Regions from separate parts of the Homo sapiens genome. Here all the other regions are linked to region 3. The links are contacts of gene promoters, found by promoter capture Hi-C in blood cells and fetal thymus (Javierre and others, 2016). All regions are on one chromosome and are shown on one strand. The core of a region is centred on a gene start or on the middle of the fragment in contact, and the rest is flanking DNA. Distances in the headings are between cores, read along the strand shown.

Region 1 (3,025 bases), core at 271-2,770, 390 kb before region 3:
GTCTCTCACGGACAGCTTGGCAAGATTCACATTCTTGGAAAAGCAGAGGAATGCGAGGGTTAAAATACCTTAAAGGGCAAGGAGATGATTTCTAGATTTCCAGACAATGTCTCAGAGAATTGTAGTGCTCTGGGGTATGCCTGAATGTAACTAATGTAGCTCCTTTTGTGCCTGAGTGTAGACTGGGTCCATGTGCCTACATGCATTCAGTTCCTCCCACCAAACTGGACAGTGATAGCTAACCCTGTTGACCCTTATGTCTGGGTGCCTTAAATTTGTGATGCCTCAAACTGACCTTCACAATGACTCTAAGGAGGTAAGTACTGTGAACTTTCCCGTTTTCTACAAGAAGAAACTGTGGCACGGAGAGATTCAGTTACTTGTCCAGGATCACAGAACTATAGTAAGTGGGGGTGGGGACAAGAATTCTAACCCAGGCAGCAGTCTGACCAGAGGGCCCTAGCTGGGAGCAGCGTTCATGTGCACTGTATGTTCGTGTTTAGTGTATGTCTGTGCATACTTGCGTGTGTGCACACGCACACATGTTCACTCAGGCACGTGGGCTGCCCTGCGGTGGGAGCTGAGAGAATGCAGTGGAGGTTGTTGGGAGGAACTCACCCGCCTGCTCTGGCTGTCTGAGCAGGTGAGGGATAGTGATATCAAGTGCGAAGACCAGGCCCTGAAGCCAGCCTGACGGTTCCAGCTGTTAGGAGAAAGTGAAGGTGGGTGCCATGGATCTGATGATTTCAGTGATTTTCTACTCAAGAAAAATGAAGTCTCGGATGGGCAGAGCTTAACTGCCTTAAAAACTTGGTACAGGGCAAGGTGTGAGTTTCCCGGTGAGACTGTGTGAACTGTGAACGGGTAGAGTCTGAAACTACAAACCAGATGTTTCCGGGCTCCCTCCCGCCTGGTCTGGCCTGTCTTCCTTCTGCTGCTATGCAGTTCATCCTGGGTCCCTGAGGGCCTCGCAGATGCTTCACTCGAAAGATTGGAGTTGCAGAGTCCCCTGTGGAGGAATTGAACTGCCCCCTCTCGCAGGACCCCAGCTGGCAAGGTTTTGTTCCTCCCTGGAGGGTAGAGACCCTCACTGAGGCCCTGGAGAGGGGCACTCAGGGGCAGCAGCTCATTCCCAAAGTTCTCTGGTGGAGCTGGGGAGTGGCACCCTGGGAACTCTGGGGTTTCCCCACCAGCTCCTCTCTCCAGTCTTTGGTGTCCAGGTACAGTCTCCAGGCCGTGGCTTCTCGAGTTCTGTATGTGGGTTGCTGCTCCGTAATGCATAGTTGGGGGACCATTTTGGTCAGTGACAGATCACTGCTGCTTTTCATCAGACCAAAATACATGTGGCTTCTTCTCCTTGCCAGCCCTACCAGGGCATCTCCCATTATACTAACCCTGCCTATTGGACCTTCTGATGCAAGGAGCAGATTAAAATCCCCTCCCTGTTGCCTACCAGGTCCGTGGCTACAACTAAATCCCTAGTTGGGGAATCACAGAGCACAGGTAAGCCCTTGGGTTCTGGAGCCAGCTTACTGGGGTGTGAGTCTTCCTTAGCTCCGTGTGGATGGTGAGCCCTCCTCTCTCAGGTCTCATGATAGTAGCTAACCCTTATTAAGTGTGTGCTGGGCACTGATTGAATGCTTTACAGGTGTCACCTTCTAAGACCCTCGTAACTCTAGCAGGTAGTACTATTATCTTACCCATTTTCCAGCGGGAGAAATAGAGGCAAGAGCAGACTAAATCACTTGCCCAAATCGCATAGCTACTGATGGTGTGATGTTGGGCAAGATATGTAACCTTTCCAAGTCTCAGTTTCCTTATCTGTTAAGTGCAGTTAATACACACAGCACCTAGCAGAGTGCTAAGCACATGGTAGGCACTCAACAGGCAAGGCCACTTAACAAGAGAATGTGAGCCCAGCTGGAGGAGAGAGAAAAATACAATGACTATAGCACTAATCATAGTAGTGATCAAATAAGTAATGCACTCCTGAATGCTTGACTTTCCTGAGTGCAAGGTAAACTCCCTGAGGGAGTTTGCCTTATTCACTTCTGGTTCAGTTCCGTGGCTTTGCACAGATCTGGCACAAGGTGGGTGCTTGGTGAAGGTTTGCTGAATGAATGAGGAACTGCTTTGGGGGTCCCAAGGGGTCATTCACAGCATCAGAGAGCCCCTTCCTAGCAGCCCTGCTCTCCCTGCCTTGTGGCTGTGATCTGAGTGTTTTTGCTTCATCCCTATTGGAGAGGAAGCTTCCCACACCAGGGCAAGCCTGGGTCTTGCCCACCTCTGTTTTCCTGATGGAGAAGATGCTCAGGGCCTGTGAGTGAAGTTGGACCTCCTTGTAGCTTGCCCTGGGTGCAAAACGATCATCCTTTTGGGCAGAAAACAGAAATTGTTGACAGCTACAGACCCAGAGATTCGAGTCAGCCAGGGGAACAGGGCTGTGCCCTTGGTGCCTCAGATTCCCTGGAGAGTGGGGTCTGGGATCATGGTGACCATGTAGATCCCTCCCTGCATCACACTAGTGAACGTTGTTTCTAAACCACACTCTCCCCTTCTCAGCATGGCGTGGCAAATAGCTGCTGCCCTTGTTCACCGAGAAAATCCTCCTGCCCTTGGCGTACCTGGCTCCTAACGAGTCCCTTATTTGGAAGGAATTCCCCCACCCCCATTGGTGTGTGACTCACCCTGAGCGAAATAACTGCTGGGCTGAGTTCTTACACAAACCCCCACCCCATCCCCTCATTCCCTAAAGACCTTGCCCTCAAGTCAACCAAGGCCTTGATCCAGAAGTGACAGAGAATGCGGAGTGTGAGGATGAGGATGATAAGGGGGACAATGAATTTCCAGGCAGGCCCAGCTCCCAGCTCCCATCCTCAGGAAACCCTGAGCCCTGCCTGCATCCTTTCCAGAAATGTGAGTCCCACCTTTCCAATTTCCTCTTACACCTCGTCTATATTTCCCACCCCCACGTCTGCATGACAGCGTGGCGTGCATGTGGCCCATCTGGGGATCAGGGAATCCT
Region 2 (3,019 bases), core at 276-2,775, 300 kb before region 3:
GCTAAGCAAGAGTCTCCAGTTCTTCCTAGAGCGAGTCTGCAGTGGTGGGGGTCGGGATCCATAATGCATGAAGCCCACTCCTTGTCTCTGCTTTTTAAGCCTTTTCATTGTATTGTCAGCCGGCTCAAACCGAATTTTCATGCTCGTTTTTCTTCATTAGAGTTCTACAAATTGTAAAATTGACTTTTCACCTCGTCTTCAGGGGCTGATCTGTCCCTTTTCTAAATCACACTGAAGTGGTGGCTGGGGTCAGTTCTGAGCCAGTCACAAAGGAGGTTTTGTGGAGTTCAGAAAGTGCAAAAGGAAAGGCCGTCTAGGGGCGGGCAGGAGGGGCGCTGGGCTGAGGGCCGGAGAAACAGACCAAGAGACATCCGCCGCGAGGGTGCGGCGACCTAACAAGCGGCTCAGGTATCCCCGACTGCTTTAAAGCTCCCGCTTCCTCCCTCCGCCTGGAGAGGGGGTCCCGAGGCGGCAGCTGGGGCCCCATCTATTGCCTGCTGACTAGGGGAGGGGGAAAGTAACAGTGTCTACAAAGGGCCTAGTGGTAAGGAATGAAACAGGGCGTTGTGTGGAGCAAGTCTTTGGGCAGGCTTGGGAAGGAGAAAACAGGGTCGCCGGGGCGGTAGGTGAAGTCTTCGGAGGCGGCTGGGCTACTGGGGTCAGAGAGCGGGGAGGCGGCGGCGGCACCTGAGCCCCAGGACTCCGCGTCGCTGGCGGGGCTTGGGGGACCGGGCAGGCAGGGGACGCACTGCGGCGGCAGGAGGCGCTCCCGGGCACCGCCTCCGGGCAGCCCTTGATCCGCCAGGCGCAGTGTCTCGGCCAGAGCCCAGATGTAGTTGTAGGCGAAGCGCAGCGTCTCGATTTTGGTGAGCTTGGTGTCGTCGGGGAACGAGGGCAGCACGCTGCGCAGTGCGTCCAGGGCCGCGTTCAAGTTGTGCATGCGGTTGCGCTCGCGATCGTTGGCCTTGACGCGCCGGCTCCTGCGCAGCGAGTGCAGCAGCGCCTCGGAGCGGACCCGCGTCCGGCCGCGGCGCCGCCGCCTCTCCTGCTCGTCGTCCTGTGCCCCTGGAACCTCAGACGCCCGGGAGATATTGGGCGCGCCCCTGCGGGCCGGCGCGGGCGGCCCCGAAGCGGAGGCTGCCTGTTGGAGTCTGGCACAGTCTTCCTCGTCGGTGAGGAAGCCGGATAGGTCACTGCCGCTGCTGCTGGCGCAGTCGAGGTCGGAGATGCAGGTCTCAAGGCGGGCTGGCATCGTTGCGCTGTGCAGGACCGACGGACAGATAGAAAGGCGCTCAGAGCGCTGCAGCCCGGACTGAGGGCAGAGCCGCCAGGGCGCACTTACGTTCCCAACAGCCTGGGGTTGTTACTCTGTGCCAGTTGCGGGTGCGAGAGCCTGGAAGGGTGCAGGGGCGCACGGAGAACTTGGCCTGGCCTCCTCGCCTCGCCTGCAGGGGCCACGCGCCCGGCCGGTCTCCTGAGTGATGTCGCCGGCGATCAGATCAGCTCGTGTGAGCACCGAGTGTGGCACACGACTGGCCTCAGGACCCCTTAAGTACCCGGCGCAACAATGGGCGCCCCCCTCCCTTGCCACCTCCGCCCCCGCGGCAGCCCGGGTGAATGGAGCGAGGCGGCAGGTCATCCCCGTGCAGCGCCCGGGTATTTGCATAATTTATGCTCGCGGGAGGCCGCCATCGCCCCTCCCCCAACCCGGAGTGTGCCCGTAATTACCGCCGGCCAATCGGCGGCGTCGCGCGGCCCCGGGAGTCGGCTCGGGCTAAGCTGGCCAGGGCGTCTCCAGGCAGTGAAACAGAGGCGGGGTCGGCGGGCGATTAGCGGCCGAGGCACGCTCCTCTTGGGGCGGGCTGGGCGCCCCTCGCTGGGGTGGGACGGGGAGGCGGGGCGCGAGCGCGAAAGTGTGAGCCGCCCAGTGAGTTGCGGAAACCTGGAGGGTACTTGGAGTTTGGGTTCGCATCCCCTCTCCAGCTGCTTAGTGGTCGCGTGACTTTGGACGAGTAATTTAACTTCCCTGAGCATTGCTTTCCCCACCTGTAAGATGAGACAAAAGTTTACCCTGTGGAGGATGATCAGATATAATGTTTGTGGAACACTAAATGTGCAGCATCCGCTGAACAGGGTGAAAATCATTTTCAAATAGACTGGAGAGTGGCCATGCCAGAGGCACAGGGCGCAGGGCAAGGATAAGTGTCGCTGCTCCGTTCAGGCTGATGAAGAAACGGGAAAGAATCTGACCTTCATCTGGGGAGTGCGAAGAGGAGAGTGGAAAAGAGGATCGGGTGATTTCCCAGGTTGCCTTGAGTCTTGGTCTCACCCTTCCCTTCTTTCCCTTCCCTTCTCCACCCTCCTCCGCACCTCTGCCCACAAGTCACCTCAAGATTCTTAATAAGAATTAATAATATGAGAATTTATATAAATAATAATATGAGAATATAATTATTAATATGAGAATTTCCTTTTCTTTGGCGTTCCTGAAACCTTGCCTGCCCCATGCCCGGAGAAATCCGTTGCACACCGTCTCTTGGAGCCCTGCTTGCAGCCTCTGTGGCCCTCTTCAGGGTGAGCCAGCCAGGGGATCCAGCTCCCCTGGCCCGAGAGAGAGCTGGCCCCTGGAGGGCAGCAGGTGACAGTGGAACCCCTTTCCTCCAAACCCCCTCCCGCCTTCGGTGTCTTAAACTCGCCTATTCCAGCAGGTCTTCCCTCTGCATGTCAGGAGTTACTTTTCTCTTGTCACCTACACTCACCCAGGAGCCACAGGGGCCCAGACATCACCCAACTTTGTACTTGGAGGATAAATAGTAAGGAACAGCACTCGATTATAGGATGAGGGTATTAAAAACAAAATGAGCAGCTTTCAGCAAAGTGCCTGCCCCCCACCTGATATCCAAGTGGTAGCCTCAGGCCGGATGCCTGGCCTGCTGCCATGGGAGCCTAGCTGACTCTTTGGGTTGGGGGGGGATTGGCCCCTTTGAGAAAGGGGGCTGTGTAGTGGCAGTTCCCACCT
Region 3 (3,326 bases), core at 611-3,110:
TCTGAGAGGTCATCATTGGGGAAGGAACTGAGGGAGAAAGAAAATGGGGTTGCTTTCTGGCCCTAGTCATGCAGGGAGTGGATCTCTGTGGAGTTTCTTTCTCTCTGTAATGGCCAGTAGCTGCCCTGCCCTCTCCCGAGTGTAGAATGCAAATGTGAATGGCAGCACACTGCAAATGGTGCTCTGAAGTGCGAAGGCCAGGAAGAAGGGATGGCCTGGATCCTGGCCACAGAGCCAGCATTCTGCCTGGGCTCATAGCCCTGTGGTCTGGGATTCTCCAGGCCTGGCCATGGTTGCTGGTAAACCTAGGGTCCTCCCCTCACTTCCCTGGGTGATGCGCCCCATGGGCAGGTTTGTGGCATGCATATGGGAATGGAGCACAGTAATTCATTTTGGAAAGCAACCCACTCCTGCTCTGCTCCAGCTCGTTAGTAGTTCAAGCAGCAGCTTTCTGGGCCTGGGAGGCCATCCTGGGCTGCCAGGGACACTGCCTGCCAACGTAAGACCTCCTCAATTGGTGCTGACACAGGACTGAGGGGATGACAAACTGCCTGGCACCCCTTAGGTGGTCTTCCAGAGGAGTGGGTTTTGAGAATTGTCAGGCTTTCCACTTGTGGATGCATTCCAATGGTGAACTCAGTAAAAGGCCACTCTTCAGAGACCTGCATTTCTCATAGCAGCCCTAGGCATATATCCCGGGCATGACAGGGCACAGCTTGGGGTTGATGCTGATGGCAACTCTGAAGCCTCAAGACTGAGTGGGTCACCATAAGCAGCAGGAAGTTGAGGTGCCGGGATGGGGTGTGATGCTTCCACTCCTCCCTGGAACTTTGCAATACTTCCCTAGCCAGGCCGGCGACTCCATCCCGGGCTGTCCTCTCCCGATACAGGTCCACTCTCTGTGTGCCGGGGCAGGGGAGGGAGTGATGCTGCAGGAAGGTCCCTTCACCTCCAAGTCCCCACTCCTCAGTGGACAGGCCTTTGTAGGATCAAGCTTCGGTGGTCAGGCTCTGTCTTGCTTTGGAAGAAGGAGGTCTGGCTGGCTGTCGCTTCATATTAACCTGGATGACGTGACATGAATATGCCCAGTGGGACAAGAGCAGGCCCAGCAGAGGCCCCTTCCTCCTGACCATACCCTTCACCATTCTTGTCAACCTTGGGGTGTCTTGGCTGAGACCCACAGCTGAGTCCCTGCTGGAAACTAGCAGAACGCTGGGGGGCTTCGAGTCTTCTTAGGAAGGGAGGAAAGACACTCTCATTGTAATCAAAAGCCTCTCCGCACAGCAGGCCACTTCTCCAGTGAGCACGGACCCCTGGCCTGGGGCCTGGCTGAATGTAGGGTCTGCCTACAGAGAGGGAGTTTGAGGTACAGAGCACCACCTCTGCCTTCTGTTGGCCCAGGGCGGACAGTGTAGGGTGAGCCAGGGCCAGGCAGGGAGCTGGGCCCCTAGAGAGCTGTAGCTGAAAGTTAGACATGACCCTGAACCACCAGGTGCCTGCTCTAGGCACGGGGTACTGAGTGGGACATGGCTGAGATGAACAAAAAGGCATCACTGCCCAGAGTTGGGATGGGAGAGAGTCCACAGCTGATTGGAATCAGCATTGTCAGCACAGCACAGTACAGGGAGATACGCGCATTGCCGTCTCTGGATGGGCGGCTGGCACTTTCAGTTCAAAGGCGCTGAGGCTCTGAAGTTGGCAAGGAAGAGGATAACCCGGAGAAGGGAGGACTAAGAGAATTTCACTTGATGACCCTTGCCTCTTTGTGTCTGGGATGAGCCGCGCGGAGCGCACCCTTATCCACCCAGAGTGCTGTGCCTTTAAGGTCCACTGGGGGCGTGATGTCAGCCGCCCTCCGGCACTTGGAGAGGTGAGCGCGGCAGCCCGCGCAGCCGGTGACTGGGGGACTGGGTTTGGAGTAGGACCTGCGGCGTGCTCGAGACTCCGACTTCGGTCTTGCGGCGCGCTCGCGCCCGCGGGCCATGCCCCACTGACTCTAAGTGGGCACTGCCCCGGCTCCGGGAGGGCGAGACCGAGCGCCGGCCATGGGAAGCTTCCAGCTGGAAGACTTTGCGGCGGGCTGGATCGGAGGTGAGTGTGCTTACCGGGGACCCCCGGTCAGAGAGAGCGAGCCTGGCGGAGTTTGCCTCTATGCTCTGAGGAAACTTTGCCTCTGTGCGCTGCCATCCCGCTCCCCGTTGTGCGCGCAGCCTGCTTTGGGGAGTGCCCGGCCCCGAGATCCCCCTGGTGGTCTTGCAGTTGCCAGGGCTAAATTCTGAGAGCTTCACAGCGTTTCGGGCTGAGCTTCTGATTTGCTCATTAAGTTAGGATCCGTGGGACTTGATGAGGTAATGATTAAACAGCTCGTCAAAGCCCACAGCCAATGGAGGCTCCTGGCGGCGCACACACCCTTCAGTGACCTGGTGCACACCTGAATTGCGGACGTGGCTCGCGGGAACTTATGTATGAGGGTAGCGCTTGGCTGCTGATCCCGGGGCGCAGGGTGGTGGGAGCCAGGCTTCGAGATTAGGCCGGCCCAACGGGGCGTCCCGACTGGAGGGAGCAGAGCTCTCACAGCAGGGAGCGGAGCGCCGGCTGCAGGTGCCCATTGCCAGGCTGCGAGGAGCACTTATTGCCTTCAGCCGCCGCCAACCGTCAGCCATCGCCTACCTCCAAGGCCCCTTCTCCGGGCACTGTTGGGTCTGCTGATCCCTTCGCCACAGCTCCCGAAGCCACTCTTTTACTGGGCCTGGGATGGGTTGCCTGGGCGAGAGTTGCATTCATTTCCTTGCTTCTCCATTTTTCTTTCCAATTGGTCTATCCCTCTTTTCTCAGCTATTAGGAAAGGGGGAAGTTTGAGGGACTTTGCTAATTGTAAAAAAAAAAAAAAAAAAAAAAAAAAGTCTTTCTTTGGACCCATCTAAAAGGGTTATCCTAAAAGGGATGTTGGCAAATGTAGCCCCTCACCAAAGGGGTGAAAAAATAAGATGAAAAGAACAACAAACCAGATTGGATCCCAACTCCTCCCCTCCTACCTAGCAGGAGACCACCTCTCTCCCGAGACCGGTGGCTGCAGGGCCCTGCTTCACACCTTCCTGAGCAGAGGTGGCTCCTTTCACCTTGAGTAAGTCTGTTGGCACAGATGCCCTTGGGTGGGGCTGAGACCCGCCTCTCCTAACTTTCCCAGTTAGGGGGCTGCAGCCTGAGGCCCGCTGGGCATATCCAGGTCCTTTTTGACTGGACAATTATTCCACCATTCAGCGGGGCAGGCAGAGAGAGGAGACACTTCCGTGGGCTGCCCCTTAAATAAGCAGACCACCTTCGGT

Evidence for each region. Contacts are between HindIII fragments. The CHiCAGO score rates a contact against its expected background, and 5 or more counts as called.
Region 1: the fragment with the promoter of DCANP1 here is called in contact with the fragment with the promoter of SLC25A48 in region 3 in 1 of 17 cell types (megakaryocytes); the score reaches 9.6 in megakaryocytes.
Region 2: the fragment with the promoter of NEUROG1 here is called in contact with the fragment with the promoter of SLC25A48 in region 3 in 4 of 17 cell types (M1 macrophages, megakaryocytes, M0 macrophages and 1 more); the score reaches 8.2 in M1 macrophages.

The regions. Positions count from the first base shown.
Region 1 is chr5:135,445,828-135,448,852 of GRCh38, forward strand. DCANP1 (dendritic cell associated nuclear protein 1) reads right to left here and starts at 1,521. Exons shown (of 1, transcript NM_130848.3): 1 at 1-1,521. The coding sequence starts at 1,281. The coding sequence ends at 547. TIFAB (TIFA inhibitor) reads right to left here. Exons shown (of 2, transcript NM_001099221.2): 2 at 1-3,025. The HindIII fragment of the contact is 6,394 bases long and covers 1-2,247 here.
Region 2 is chr5:135,534,439-135,537,457 of GRCh38, forward strand. It overlaps NEUROG1 (neurogenin 1), which reads right to left and starts at 1,526. Exons shown (of 1, transcript NM_006161.3): 1 at 1-1,526. The coding sequence starts at 1,252. The coding sequence ends at 539. RefSeq lists a silencer at 1,101-1,395 and an enhancer at 1,513-2,028. The HindIII fragment of the contact is 9,722 bases long and covers 1-3,019 here.
Region 3 is chr5:135,832,803-135,836,128 of GRCh38, forward strand. SLC25A48 (solute carrier family 25 member 48) reads left to right here and starts at 1,861. Exons shown (of 8, transcript NM_001349336.2): 1 at 1,861-2,091. The coding sequence starts at 2,046. RefSeq lists an enhancer at 826-1,327. The HindIII fragment of the contact is 1,059 bases long and covers 993-2,051 here.